Linked DNA regions of Homo sapiens: all the other regions are linked to region 5. The links are contacts of gene promoters, found by promoter capture Hi-C in blood cells and fetal thymus (Javierre and others, 2016). All regions are on one chromosome and are shown on one strand. Each heading gives the region's core, a stretch centred on a gene start or on the middle of the fragment in contact. The rest is flanking DNA. Distances are from core to core; before and after follow the strand shown. Region 1 holds the start of DYM (dymeclin). Region 2 overlaps LINC02837 (long intergenic non-protein coding RNA 2837). Region 3 holds the start of ACAA2 (acetyl-CoA acyltransferase 2). Region 4 overlaps C18orf32 (chromosome 18 open reading frame 32). Region 5 holds the start of MEX3C (mex-3 RNA binding family member C).

Region 1 (2,700 bases), core at 7-2,506, 1.7 Mb after region 5:
AACTCCTGGGCTCAAGTGATCCTCCCACCTTAGCCTCCCAAAGTATTGGGATTACAGGCATAAGCCACAGGGCCCAGTCTACTTTGGGTTTTAATATGTTTTCCTGTCATAATTCTGCAAGCTCAGTGAATTTACTGGCAGTCTATGCTAGAAAAGAATACCTAATATTTGTATAGTACTTTACAGAGTACACTGGCACATATTGACTATATAATGGGAATAACGGTGCTATCTGTTCCATAGGGTCATTTTGCGAAATAATAGTGCATGGCAAATAGAAAATAATCCATAATGTGAATTGTTATTACTACAGTCATGTCAACATTTCCTGTAATGGCAGAATCATCATCATGCATATATTTTAGGTGAGGAAACTGGCTGAGAGAGGTGAAGTAATTGCTCAAAGACGTCAGTGTGGAAACCTCAGCTCATTTGACTTCAAATTCCATAGTTTTGGCACTATCTCATATTGCTACTCTTTCCCGTGGGACCTGTCCTTTCCGACAACTTTGCAGGCAGGGCTAGCCCTGCCAGCTGCCTCCATCAAAAATTATTTTGCTATTTCTCAATTCTCCAGAATCCCACACAATATTGCTTGACTTTGGGATGGTTATTCAGCTGCAATTAACAGAGGCCTTAATAAGGTTAAGCCGCCAGAACGAGCGGTGTAGCATGAGCGAGGACTCTAGCACCTGGCAGGTGAGGTTGACTCTAGCACCCGGCAGGTGAGGTTTTTGCGCTTCTCTCTCTCTCTCTTTTTTTTTTTTTGAGAAGAGTCGAGCTCTGTCGCAAGGCTGGAGTGCAGTGGCCCGATCTCGACTCACTGCAATCTCCGCCTCTCGGGTTCAAACGATTCTCCTGCCTCAGACAGCTACTTTTTGACTCACTGCAATCTCCGCCTCTCGGGTTCAAACGATTATCCTGTCTCAAACAGCTACTTTTTGTATTTTTAGTGGAGACGGGGTTTCACCATGCTGGCCAGGATGGTCTCGATCTCCTGACCTCGTGATCCGTCCACCTCGGCCTCCTAAAGTGCTGGGATTACAGGCGTGAGCCACCGCGCACGGCTGTTTTTGCGCTTCTCGATTTCGCCACGTGGCTTTGCGGTAGCCCAGGAGGTACTAGGAGGGCGGAGGCACGAATAACACCCAAAGGACTACAGTTTCCAGAAGCCCGCGCGCGCCGCGTGCCACGTGACCACCTGGCTGGCGCGCGCGCCTGGGGGTCTGGTCCCTAGCCGCGTTCTCGGTCGCTTCCCTCTTCTCTCGCCGCCTCCTGGCCTCCGCACCGACGCGGCCCGGGCTGGAGCCGAGCCGGGGCCGAGCTGCAGGCCGGACCGGAGCCGGATCTGTACCCGCTGAGACGTGGAAACATGGAGGCCTGAGCCGGTGTGCGCCACCTGGGCTGCGGCGGCGACAGCGACTTCTCCTGACCCCTCTGCCACCCTCCCATCCGTCCGCGGGTCCGTGGAGCTGGAGCAGATCCCCCAGCCGGCTGAGACAGGTGGGCTGTAGCGCCGCCCCCCTCAGCGCGGCCGGGCCCGAAAGCCTGGCTGTCCCCGGCCTCCTGTCAGAGGGGGTCAGGGGCCACCCTCCGCAACCCGGCCAGCGCCCCGGGGCGGCGGCGAAGGGACCCTCCCTTCCCTGCCCGCGGGCGCCTGGGCCACCCGGAGGGGCTGTGCTGACAGCGGACGGACCTCTGTCCGAGTCCGCTGTTGGGAGTTGGGGGATACCGAAGGCCAAGTCGGTGCTTCCGGAGATGGGGCGGTGTTGGTCTGACAAATGGGCGTGTGATGGGCAGGGTGAGCAATAGCTGTTGGGTTTTTCTTTCTTCTTTTTACATTCATAGTTTATCGAGGTATAACTAACATATCAGAAAATTAACCCTTTAAAAGTACAACTCAGTGGTTTTTAGTATATTCACAGGGTTGAGCAGCCATCACCACCCTTAACTCCAGAGCATTTTTAATCACCGCCCCCCCCGCCCCAAAGAAGCTCGTACCCATTAGCAGTCACTCCTCCTTCTCTCCCCTACACTATTGATCTACTTTCAGTCGCCGTGGATTTGCCTGAGCAATTGTGTTTTGACTGAAAAGTGAAAGGGTGGGTGTTTGTGAACTGGGGGCAGTAGTGGGGTTTGAGGGTATTGGTGTGGTAAAGCTGATTGGATAAAGCTGTTCTCTACTGAACAGGGGTAGAGAAGTGATGGGATGATTGTAATCGGCCAGCAAAGCGGGTACCCAGGATAGACTGATTAGGGGGCACAGATGGAGTGAGTTCCTTGAAAGAGGAGAGGGGAAGTTGGAGAGAGGGGTGTGTAGAGCAAGGGTGATGTGCTGAAGGATGAAAACCTGGAGGGTGGAGGCCGTGGAGAGGAATGTAGCGTCCACCAGAGGAACTCAGGTGCTTAGGCTGATGAGTTGAGGGCTCAAGAGAAGAACGAGGTGGAAGGGAAGAGAATCTATAGGAATGGGTGAATGGTTGTTGCAGAGGATGAAATTTATGAATATATGGATTTCTGGAGTGATTATCCTGCTTTGAAGTTTTATTTTAGATAATCCTCTCAGCAACTTGGAGATAGACCGGACAAGTATGAATATTCCCATTCTGTAAATGAAGAACTAGTCTTTTAGAGGTTAGGTGTCTGCCTTAAGCTCATAAACTGAGTACATAGGGCAAAATGAGTTGGAATAATTGATGA
Region 2 (2,700 bases), core at 113-2,612, 1.7 Mb after region 5:
TGTAATCCCAACACTTTGGAAAGCCGAGACGGGCAGATCACCTGAGGTCAGGAGTTCAAGACCAACCTGGCCAACATAGTGAAACCCAGTCTGTACTAAAAATACAAAAATTAGCCAGGCGTGATGGTGGGCGACTGTAATCCCAGCTACTCAGGAGGCTGAGGCAGGAGAATCACTTGAACCCCGGAGGCAGAGGTTGCAGTGAGCCGAGATCGCGCCAATACACTCTAGCTTGGGTGACAGCAAGCCTCTGTCTCAAAAATAAAATAAAAAGAAACAACAACCAGATGTCATGTGGGACCTAGATTGGGTCTTGCTTTGTTTCTGGTTTTTTTGTGTGTGTGTGGCTGCTTTGGTTGGTTGGTTTGTTTGTTTGTTTGTTTGTTTGAGACAGAGCCTTGCTCTGTCACCCAGGCTGGAGTGTAGTGACATGATCTCAACTCACTGCAACCTCTGTCTCCCAGCTTCAAGCAATTCACATGCCTCAGCCTCCAGAGTAGCTGGGACTACAGGTGTGTGCCACCACACCCTGCTAATTTTTTCTATTTTTAGTAGAGACAGGGATTCACCATGTTGGCCAAGCTGGTTTCGAACTCCTGGCCTCAAGTGATCTGCCTGCCTCAGCTTCCCAAAGTGCTGGGATTACAGGTGTGAGTCAGTGTGCCTGGCGGGTCTTGCTTTGAACAAACCAACTGGAAAGGACATTTGGGGAACAACTGGGATAACTGAAATTGAGGTTAGGTATTAGAAGAGATGAAAATGTATCAACATGGTAAAATTGAGATTAACTGGAAAAAAATCTGATTATGAAATAGCATGTACAGTATAATTTCACCTGGTAAGTATATATGTATATACATACACACATGAAGTATATATCTCACACTATACTAGAAGGATATATTAAAGCTTAATCTTTTGGAAATATAAGGATTTTATTTTCTTAATCTGCTTACCTGCTATATCTGACTTTCTATAAAACACATATAAATAATCTTAAATTTTTGAATAATTTTAAAATTTTACTTATTATTTATTTATTTATTGAGATGGAGTCACTCTGTCACCCAGGCTGGAGTGCAATGGTGCGATCTTGGCTCACTGCAACATCTGCCTCCCGGGTTCAAGAGATTCTCCTGCCTCAGCCTCCCGAGTACCTGGGATTACAGGCACGCACCACCATGCCCGGCTAATTTTTTCTTTTCTTTTCTTTTTTCTTTTTCTTTTTTTTTTTTGAGACAGAGACTCGCTCTGTCACCCAGACTGGAGTGCAGTGGTGCGATCTCGGCTCACTGCAACCTCCGCCTCCCAGGTTCAAGCCATGCTCCTGCCTCAGCCTCCCAAGTAGCTGGGACTACAGGCGTGTGCCACCATGCCCGGCTAATTTTTTGTATTTTTAGTAGAGAGAGATGGGGTTTCACCGTGTTAGCCAAGATAATCTCCATCTCCTGACCTCGTGATCCACCTGCCTTGGCCTCCCAAAGTGCTGGGATTACAGGCGTAAGGCATCTTGCCTGGCAACTTTTTCTATTTTTAGTAAAGACAGGGTTTCACCATGTTGGCCGGGCTGATCTTAACTCCTGGCCTCAAGTGATCTGCCACCCCGGCCTCCCAAAGTGCTGGGGATACAAGCGTGAGCCACCGCACCTGGCCAATTTTAAATTTTTTAATAAATAAATTGCTCTGGCTGTTCTAGATGGATTACAGGGGCAATCAAGAGTGGAAGTAGGTTGTCTAGTTGATCAGCAATATGCTTTTCAGTATCTGTTTCCCAAGTCTAGGTGGAAGCCAGATTCTTGCTGGAAATGAAGCTTCTCCTTCATGGGAATCCCACATACATGGCCAAAGAGATCTTACGTCTGGGAGCACAAACTGGGTATGTTAAAGGGCTTGATATTCTCCAGGGTATTTTGTTGTCCAACAAAGCTGGGTAGAGATTTGCACAGGTCCACGGAGCTGCTCAGCAAAGGGAGGGTCTGGAGGAGTGCTATCCAGCAGACTAAAGGCAAGGCACCAGCCCTCTTTGAAGTTATACACTGGTCCAGCCAGGGAAATCACAAGCACACACACATACCCAACATCAGTTAATGACAAGATAAGAAAGAAAATGTACTTTTAAATTTGATCTTAAAACAATTCACAACTCTTAAAAATTATGCAGAATAAGCCAGGCGTGGTGGCTCACGCCTGTAATCCCAGCACTTTGGGAGGCTGAGGCAGGTGGATCACAAGGTCAGGAGTTCGAGACCAGCCTGGCCAATATGATGAAACCTCGTCTCTACTAAAAATACAAAACTTAGCTGGGCGTGGTAGCACGTGCCTGTAGTCCCAGCTGCTCAGGAGACTGAGGAAGGAGAATTGCTTGAACCCAGGAGGCAGAGGTTGCAGTGAGCTGAGATGGCGCCACTGCACTCCAGCCTGGGCAACACAGCGAGACTCTGTCTCAAAAAATAAATACATAAACAAATAATAAATAAAATTATGCAGAATAAGTAGAGCTATAGTAATAAAAAGCAAACTTTGCAGCTTCAGGAATTAAAGTGTCTCACAAATGGAATGAAATCCCTTAGGAAAGCCTAGTGAAGAAAAATGTCAGCTATTACCCTAACTCTGGGAGGTAAGGGAGAGACAGCCAGGCGGCAGAGAGGAGCAGCCAGCAGCCCAAGGTCCGGAGAGGTGAATTAAAGGACTCCAGCCGCC
Region 3 (2,700 bases), core at 167-2,666, 1.4 Mb after region 5:
GCGTGAGCCACGGCGCCCGGCCTATACATGAGCATTTGTGAAGCTTGTCTAAGATTTGTACATTTGATTGCGTGGATATTTTGCCTTAAAAAGAACTGTAAATGAATAATGTGTGCTGATGTGTTCATGGGTGTAGAGTACTAAGGTCTGCATTAAAAAGATAAGATGGTTTGATGGAAGAACAGGTGGATAGCAATATAGCAAAATGTTAACAATTGGGTCGATATGTGTCCACTGTACAAGTCTTCCCACTTTTCTGTAAGTTTGTAAGTTTTCATAATACAAATTTGGATTTAAAAACACCCCAACATTGCAAGAGTGTCACCAAAGTGTTTGAAAAGCAGGATTCTAGGGGGGGCATTCGCTGACGACTCAGAGAAACCGTCCATGCCACCCACCACCCCTACGCACTCAAAAGAAGCCCTCGCTAGGCAGCCCGGCCCTCCGAGCCCTGGTATCGAGGGGCTCTCCGCCTCTCCCCTGCCGCGGCCGCCTCCTGCTTGCCCGGCCTCAGTCTGTTCTCAGAACATACTCCATCACCTGGTTCCCAGAACTCAGATTGCGCAGTGGTCTCGTCATCATCGGCCAGGACTCACAGTGCCCGCGGCAGAGGCCTCCCTAGACCTCCCTCCCGTCCAGCCTCACCCGCTGCCTACTCTCCTCACGCCCCTGCTCCAGGTCCCCTGGCCCCATTTCGCTCGCCACGTTTTCATAATCCTCTCAGGCTCCGGGCAAGCGGCGCCGCCCGCAATGGGACCTGATCATATAAGGAAAATACTGCGGGCTCATCCGGGGGCTGCAATGGGGACCCGAAAGCGCCCTAGCCTACTACAATCACCGCACCCCAACTGCCGCCCACCTCTCTGCCCTGCCCCCAGTACAGTACCCAAAACCGGTCCGGGTCCAGCTCGGCGGCCCAAGCCTCTGCCCAGCGGACTGCGCACCCGCCCGCCCCAGCCAATCCCGCCGCCGCCGCCGCGCCCCGCCCACAGGACGTTCGGTCCCGCCCCCAGCTGGCGGCCGCGGCCGCCCGCGCGCCAAGTTCCTCAGCCCTTGGCTCCTGCCCAGTGTTTAGGGTGTTGGCGGAGACAAAGGGGAAGAGTCATCGCCTGTCGGGGCTAGGATATGATGGGTGAGAGGTGTCAAACCAAATTCTCTCGGTTTGGAAACGGAGAAAATCTAAAAATGAGGATGTGAGGAAAGAGTCCGCTCTCAAGGCGCGTTGTGGTCTATCCGAGCCCCGTCCCCTGGGCTCCCTCGGGCTGGGGTGAGGCGGGCAGCGCTACGCGTGGGGTAGGACCATCTTACGCTGGGACCCCGCCAAGGAGCCCCAGGAAGTAGGTGAAAGGGCAGGGGCGTGGCTCTCGGGGCGCCACCCACGCTCTTGAAATCTGGGTGATTGCGAGCGGCCGCTCAGCGTCCCCCACACCACAGACCCGCGCCGCCGACGACCCAGCAGCCGCCATGGCTCTGCTCCGAGGTGAGCGCAGCCCCCTCCTCCTCTCCTCGCCCCTCGGGGTCCTGCCCTCCCCAGGCCAGGCCTCCGCTTCCGGCCGCCGCGGAGAGTCGGGGTCGTGGGGTGAAGTTCACTCAACCTCCTCGGTTTTGGAGCGGACGTGATAAAAACCCAGCCCGAAAGGCTTGTTTGGGTTAAGGAGAAAACCCTTACTTGTAAGGCGCTAGCGACAGCGATTTCGGTGCAATTTCCTGTTTAGTTGAGACCAAAGTTTGCTTGCATGTGACCTTGGAGGTCATTCCTTTCTTCGCCTAACAGTGACCCCACTAGTTCGAGTCCAAGTATTAGAAAAAATGGGGCGGCGCCATAGGCCGCGGGCGCCTGCTGCGGGGCAGCTGCGCACAGGAGCCCGCCGCTCGGCCTCGGTGGTCAGGGCTCCCCGGGTGAATCGATGGAGAGGCCTGCAGAAATGGTAGCTGGTGTTCTGCTGGAAGACCTGCCCTGCTCCCATTTCCCTTCTGTTGCTTTAGATTAGAGCGGTCACTCTATACCTAAGTTCTAGGGTTATGAACTTGTTTAAAACAACTGTGTAATAAACTCCCTTTTCAAAACAAGTGGGCACAGTCAATGGAATCTTACTTTAAGGATGTACGAGTCGAAGAACATTGAGGTGGAATACATATCGAGGCCCTGAGACAGGAAAAAGCTTGGCAGGATCTAAGAACCAAGCATTTTGGTGCTCCAGGGCCCTGTGGGCTCTGTAAGAAGGTGGGGTTTTGTTCCAAATTCAGTGGAAGGCAATACAGGGATTTAAAGCGGGGTAATGACAGGATCTGATTTCCACTCTGTCCGAATTTGGGGCGGTCTGTGTAATGGCGAAGAGACCATTTAAGGATCTATTGTAGAGGTCCAGGGAGCAGCAAATGATGGCTTTGACTCGTGTGGGGCAGTGTAATTGGGGAGAAAAGGGGAGGGATGAGTTGAGATAGATTTGGAGGTGGATTTGATAGAAAGTGGATTGGATGTGGTGGAGTAAATATAAGAAGGAAATGTCGAGAATGATGAAAAGTGTCTGGTTTGATGAACCGTGTTCATGATGATGCCACTTTACAGAGTGAGGAAAATTGGGAAAGGAATAGATGTGGAAAGAAGGATTGAGAATTCAGTTTTAGGCAGAAAACTTTTTGGTGCCTGTGAAGCAGCCAAGTGGAGATGCCAGCTAAGCATTGGTTAGGGGGATCTGA
Region 4 (2,700 bases), core at 111-2,610, 1.7 Mb after region 5:
CAAAAAGCTACAATTTATTACCAGTATTTCGTAAAAGACAGTTTGACACCAGAAGAGTGAAAAAGAACATGGGAATAGTGGACAAAAATAGCCATCAGTTTGAATAAGCGTATGAAAAGTGTTAATTTTATGAAAAATTCACTATTTTGTTCATATTTTTCTTATTTTGGAGGCTAATTGTTAAAAGCTTTTATCAGTTATCCATGGGCTGGAGTTGGTAGCCACTGTTTGATACCACACAAATGTTTCTTTGCCCTAAAATATCAACATCTGTCTGTGTAAAGGTCAGGGCTGCCTTTTTAGTAAGAGCTACCCTTTGTTAAACACATTGTACCTGCACTGTTCATGGGTGTTTCACACACACAAACCTACCTGGTCTGCATAAACCTGAAATACAGTCAAGAAAACAGGATCCACCGGAGGCGGTGACTCAAGCCTATAATCCCAGCACTTTGGGAGGCCGAGGTGGGAGGATCACTTGAGGCCGGGAGTTCAAGACCAGCCTGGCCAACATGGTGAAACCCTGTCTCTACTAAAAATACAAAAATTAGTCGGGCATAGTGGTACACACCTGTAATCCCAGCTACTCCAGAGGCTGAGGCATGAGAATCGTTTGAAACCAGGAGGCAGAGGTTGCAGTGAGCTGAAATTGTACCACTGCACTCCAGCCTAGGTGACAGAGCAAGACTGTCTCAAAAGAAAAGAAAAAGAAAAACAGGATCCCAGCCTGGGCAACATAGGGAGACCTCGCCTCCACCAAAAATTAAAAAATTTAGCTAGGCATATGGTGATGTGCACCTGTGGTCCCAGCTACTCTGGAGGCTGAGGTGGGAGGATTGCTTGAACCCAGGAGGTTAAAGGCTACAGTGAGCTGTGATCAAGCCACTGCACTCTAGCTTGGACAACAGAGCAAGACCCTGTCTTAAAAAAAGAAAAAAAGAATAATGGAGTTTAAATATGTAAATGACAAGTCTAAGATTTCAAGGTCATACTTTCATGCTAAGGAGCCATCACAGCTACATATATATATAGTGTATATATATATATAGTGTGTATATATATATAGTGTATATACATATAGTGTATATATATATAGTGTATATATATAGTGTGTATATATATAGTGTGTGTATATATATATATGTGTATATATATATAGTGTGTGTATATATATATATTTTTGTTTGTTTGTTTGTTTTTGGAAGATGGAGTTTCGCTCTTGTTGCCCAGGCTGCAGTGCAATGGTGCAATCTCTGCTCACCACAACCTCCTCCTCCCAGGTTCAAGCGATTCTGCCTCAGCCTCCCAAGTAGCTGGGATTACAGGTGCGTGCTACCACACCCGGCTAATTTTGTACTTTAGTAGAGACGGGGTTTCACCACGTTGGTCAGGCTGGTCTCAAACTCCCAACCTCCAGTGATCTGCCTGCCTTGGCCTCCCAAAGTGCTGGGATCACAGGCATAAGCACTGGGCCCGGCTGCCACAGCTACTAATATCTTAATTGTTAGTAATACCTTATTGGGAATAATTAGGCAGAAATGGAGAGGGTGAGTTTAGATTAATCAGTATGTGTGAACTTGTTTTAAAGTTTCTGGAGGCTGAGGTGAGAGGATCGCTTAAGTCCAGGAGGCGGAAGTTGCAGTGAGCCAAGATCACACCACTGTACTCCAGCCAGGACAACAGAGCAATACCCCGTTTCAAATAAATAATAATAAAGTTAATTTTGCTAACCTTGTATCTTGAGTTTTTAATTTACCTACTTTTCAACAACTTATTTTTGCTTTATGAATTTTAACTGCATTTCCCGTCTCATTTTATGAGTTAGACTCATTTTCTCAGGTAATTACTTGAGGCTAAAACTTGGGTTTCATCACTTTTTTTTTTTTTTTTCCATTACTAGGCTGCCTTCTTAGGAAACATAGGTGACTCAGCACTTCCTTAAAGTGACCATTCAGAACTGGCATGTTGACAGAATGCCTGGATTAAAAAGAAACTCCAACCGCTGATCTTTTCATTTGTTATTATTTTTTAGAGACAGAGTCTCACTCTGTTGCCCAGGCTGGAGTGCAGTGGCGCAATCATAGCTCACTGCAGGCTCAAACTCCTGGGCTGAAGTGATCTTCTTGTCTCAGCCTCCCGAGTAGCTGGGACTACAGGCATGAACCACTGCGCCTGGCGCAGAGACTGATCTTAAGTCTAGTTCAGTCGTAATCAAAGAGGAAATGGAAGTTTTCTTATGGTTTCCTCCACAGGGAGCTACTTGCTTGTTCTAACCTCAAAGCTAAATTTATTGACATGGCGACAGCTCCTTAATAAAGAAGCAAAGACTATGGGTTCTTTGGTTTGAATGTCCGCTCCAAAACTCATGTTGAAATTTAATCCCCAATGTGGCAGTAGTGAGAGGTAGGGCCTTTAAAAGGTAATTGGGTCATGAGGGCCCTGCCCTCATGAATAGATTCATTCACTCATGGATTAATGGATTAGTGGGTTAATAGATTTAACGGGTTATCATAGGAGTAGAACTGGAAGCTTTTATAAGAAGAGGAAAAGGCGCCGGGCACGGTGGCTCACGCCTGTAATCTCAGCACTTTGGGAGGCCGAGGCAGGCGGATTGTCTGAGCTCAGGAGTTCAAGACCAGCCTGGGCAACACGGTGAAACCCCGTCTCTACTAAAATACAAAAAAAAAATCAGCCAGGTGT
Region 5 (2,700 bases), core at 51-2,550:
GGCGGGCGTATCACTTGAGGTCAGGAGTTCGAGACCAGCCTGGCCAACATGGTGAAACCCCGTCTCTACTAAAAATACAAAAGTTAGCTGGGCGTGGTGGCACGTGCCTGTAATCCCAGCTACTCGGGAGGCTGAGACAGGAGAAACTCTTTTTTTTTTTTTTTTTTTTTTGAGACGCAGTTTCGCTCTGTCGCCCAGGCTGGAGTGCAGTGGCATGATCTTGGCTCACTGCAACCTCCACCTCCCGGGTTCAAGCGATTCTCCTGCCTCCGCCTCCCGAGTAGTTGGGATTACAGGCGTGCGCCACCATGCCCGGCTAATTTCTGTATTTTTAGTAGAGACGGGGTTTCACCATGTTGATCAGGCTGGTCTCGAACTCCTGACCTGACCTCGTGATCCGCCCGCCTGAGCCTCTCAAAGTGCTGGCATTACAGGCGTGAGCCACTGCAAGGGGAAGCTCTTGAGCCCGGGAGGCGGAGGTTGCAGTGAGCCAAGATCGCACCACTGCACTCCAGCCTGGGCGACAGAGCTGGACTCCGTTTAAAAAAAAAAAACAAAAAACCCCGAAGAGCTAAACTTCAGCACCTCCAGGCTGCTGATGTAACCATCCTGCCGGCAGAGAAGCCGGGCCAGCGGGGCGTGGGAGGAGCATTCCCGAGTCCGAGAGGGAAGGCCCGGGAGCCACGCGGCTCAGGAAACCGCCCCCGCGAGGGGATAGGAGGATACTGCGTGGCCCCTCCTTCCGTGACTCTTCTTAAGGCCCTTCCTCTGAAGGGGGCGATCTCTTCCTCAACCCAAGGAAACAATGCTCTCGAACCTATGCCTGCAGCTCTGCTCCAGGCCGCTCACACAGTGCCTTCCCTAAAAGAACTCAGCCACATGGGCTACAGGGATGAAGGGTTGGGGGGAAACAAATCCAGGTGTGCGCTTCGACCGCACGCGCCTGCGCCAAAACCCCGCTTGGCCCTTAGTTTCAGCCTCTGCTGCAGCGCCTTCGTCCGCCTCCTTTTTCCCGCCCCCGCCGGGGACGTCACAAAGAGTGACGTGTAAAGTGAACAATCACAGTCCCTCTCCGCGCGTGCCGGGAGGAATGAGAGGGAGGTGGGCGGGGAGAGGACGGAAGGAGTAGGCTTCGGGAACTGGCTGGTCCCGGTCACCCAATCAGAGAGCTCTGGGGAGGGGAGGGGCGGGGCCCGAAGGAGGGTGGGGGGTGGGGCTGGGGAAAGGAGTTGGAAGGCTGCGGGAGGAGAAGGCGGGCTCCCAGAGATTAAAAGCACCCAATCAGAGCGCGCCGGCTTCATTCGGAGAGCGGCGTGGGGCGTAGCCGCCGCCGCCGCGCGCGCCGGGGGCTGGTTAAGGCCATGAAACAAAAGAAACACTGAGAGGGGAGCCGCTGCCACCTCCACCAGCCCGCCCCGCCGCCGTCCCCACCCACCCACCTAGTTACCTACCTCTGCCTCCTTCCCCTGCCCCTCCACCCCGCCCTCTCCGGTCTCCGGGCGGCCCTGGCGCTCCTCGGCCCGGGTCCCCAGCCCCGCCGCCTCCCCAGAGGAAAGGTGTTTGCGAGCTGAGCAGGGCCCTGGCCCTGTCCGCCATGGGGCTCGCCGCCTGCCGCGCCTGACCCGGCCGCCGCCGCCGCCATTGACAGCGCGCCGCCGCGATGCCCAGCGGCAGCTCCGCGGCCCTGGCCCTGGCGGCGGCCCCGGCCCCCCTGCCGCAGCCGCCCCCGCCGCCGCCGCCGCCACCGCCGCCTCTGCCGCCGCCCTCGGGCGGCCCGGAGCTCGAGGGGGACGGGCTCCTGCTGAGGGAGCGCTTGGCCGCGCTAGGCCTCGACGACCCCAGCCCGGCGGAGCCCGGCGCCCCGGCGCTTCGGGCCCCGGCAGCGGCGGCGCAGGGCCAGGCCCGGCGGGCGGCGGAGCTGTCTCCAGAGGAGCGGGCTCCGCCCGGCCGGCCCGGGGCCCCGGAGGCGGCCGAGCTGGAGCTGGAAGAGGACGAGGAGGAGGGGGAGGAAGCGGAGCTGGACGGAGACCTGCTGGAGGAGGAGGAGCTGGAGGAAGCAGAGGAGGAGGACCGGTCGTCGCTGCTGCTGCTGTCGCCGCCCGCGGCCACCGCCTCTCAGACCCAGCAGATCCCGGGCGGGTCCCTGGGGTCTGTGCTGCTGCCAGCCGCCAGGTTCGATGCCCGGGAGGCGGCGGCCGCGGCGGCGGCGGCGGGGGTGCTGTACGGAGGGGACGATGCCCAGGGCATGATGGCGGCGATGCTGTCCCACGCCTACGGCCCCGGCGGTTGTGGGGCGGCGGCGGCCGCCCTGAACGGGGAGCAGGCGGCCCTGCTCCGGAGAAAGAGCGTCAACACCACCGAGTGCGTCCCGGTGCCCAGCTCCGAGCACGTCGCCGAGATCGTCGGCCGCCAGGGTGAGTGCAGGGGTGGGGAGGTCCAGCTGGGCATGGCCCCGGGCGTGGGTGGGGAGACGAGAGAAAGGAGCGTGGGACGGAAAAGGCGAACCCGGCGAGGCCCCCAAGTCCACCGCGAAGGGGTCTGGGAGGAGCCGAGGGTCGACCAGATGTGAAGATGGGTCACCTTGCGAAAACCCACGCTTTTCCGCCCGTCTTGCCTGGTAAAAAGTGTGAAGTTTCTCGGGCGACCCAGTCCGGTGGTGTTCACGTTACTTGGGCTGTATTCGTGGAACACCAGGCTGGC

What was found. Contacts are between HindIII fragments. The CHiCAGO score rates a contact against its expected background, and 5 or more counts as called.
Region 1: the fragment with the promoter of DYM here is called in contact with the fragment with the promoter of MEX3C in region 5 in 1 of 17 cell types (neutrophils); the score reaches 6.5 in neutrophils.
Region 2: a contact is called between a fragment that was not itself captured here and the fragment with the promoter of MEX3C in region 5, in 1 of 17 cell types (neutrophils). The highest score is 6.7, in neutrophils.
Region 3: the fragment with the promoter of ACAA2 here is called in contact with the fragment with the promoter of MEX3C in region 5 in 3 of 17 cell types (activated CD4 T cells, monocytes and non-activated CD4 T cells); the score reaches 7.1 in activated CD4 T cells.
Region 4: a contact is called between a fragment that was not itself captured here and the fragment with the promoter of MEX3C in region 5, in 1 of 17 cell types (neutrophils). The highest score is 5.2, in neutrophils.

Annotation. Positions count from the first base shown.
Region 1 is chr18:49,459,201-49,461,900 of GRCh38, reverse strand. It overlaps DYM (dymeclin), which reads left to right and starts at 1,256. Exons shown (of 18, transcript NM_001353214.3): 1 at 1,256-1,503. RefSeq lists a silencer at 1,278-1,857. The HindIII fragment of the contact is 8,649 bases long and covers 1-2,700 here.
Region 2 is chr18:49,500,813-49,503,512 of GRCh38, reverse strand. All of the region lies in intron 2 of LINC02837 (long intergenic non-protein coding RNA 2837), which reads right to left. Among named protein-coding and RNA genes, the nearest start is that of LINC02837, 2.8 kb to the right of the region's middle. RefSeq lists an enhancer at 2,693-2,700. The HindIII fragment of the contact is 902 bases long and covers 912-1,813 here.
Region 3 is chr18:49,812,249-49,814,948 of GRCh38, reverse strand. ACAA2 (acetyl-CoA acyltransferase 2) reads left to right here and starts at 1,416. Exons shown (of 10, transcript NM_006111.3): 1 at 1,416-1,480. The coding sequence starts at 1,465. SNHG22 (small nucleolar RNA host gene 22) reads right to left here and starts at 926. Exons shown (of 4, transcript NR_117096.1): 1 at 887-926. It also overlaps SCARNA17. RefSeq lists silencers at 904-1,073, 1,316-1,610, 1,504-1,623. The HindIII fragment of the contact is 2,119 bases long and covers 46-2,164 here.
Region 4 is chr18:49,476,278-49,478,977 of GRCh38, reverse strand. C18orf32 (chromosome 18 open reading frame 32) reads left to right here. Exons shown (of 3, transcript NM_001035005.4): 3 at 1-1,735. Among named protein-coding and RNA genes, the nearest start is that of C18orf32, 9.6 kb to the left of the region's middle. The HindIII fragment of the contact is 2,342 bases long and covers 190-2,531 here.
Region 5 is chr18:51,196,281-51,198,980 of GRCh38, reverse strand. MEX3C (mex-3 RNA binding family member C) reads left to right here and starts at 1,300. Exons shown (of 2, transcript NM_016626.5): 1 at 1,300-2,414. The coding sequence starts at 1,661. RefSeq lists enhancers at 787-876, 2,675-2,700 and silencers at 1,077-1,606, 1,627-1,736, 1,877-1,956, 2,217-2,266, 2,287-2,336. The HindIII fragment of the contact is 5,421 bases long and covers 1-2,700 here.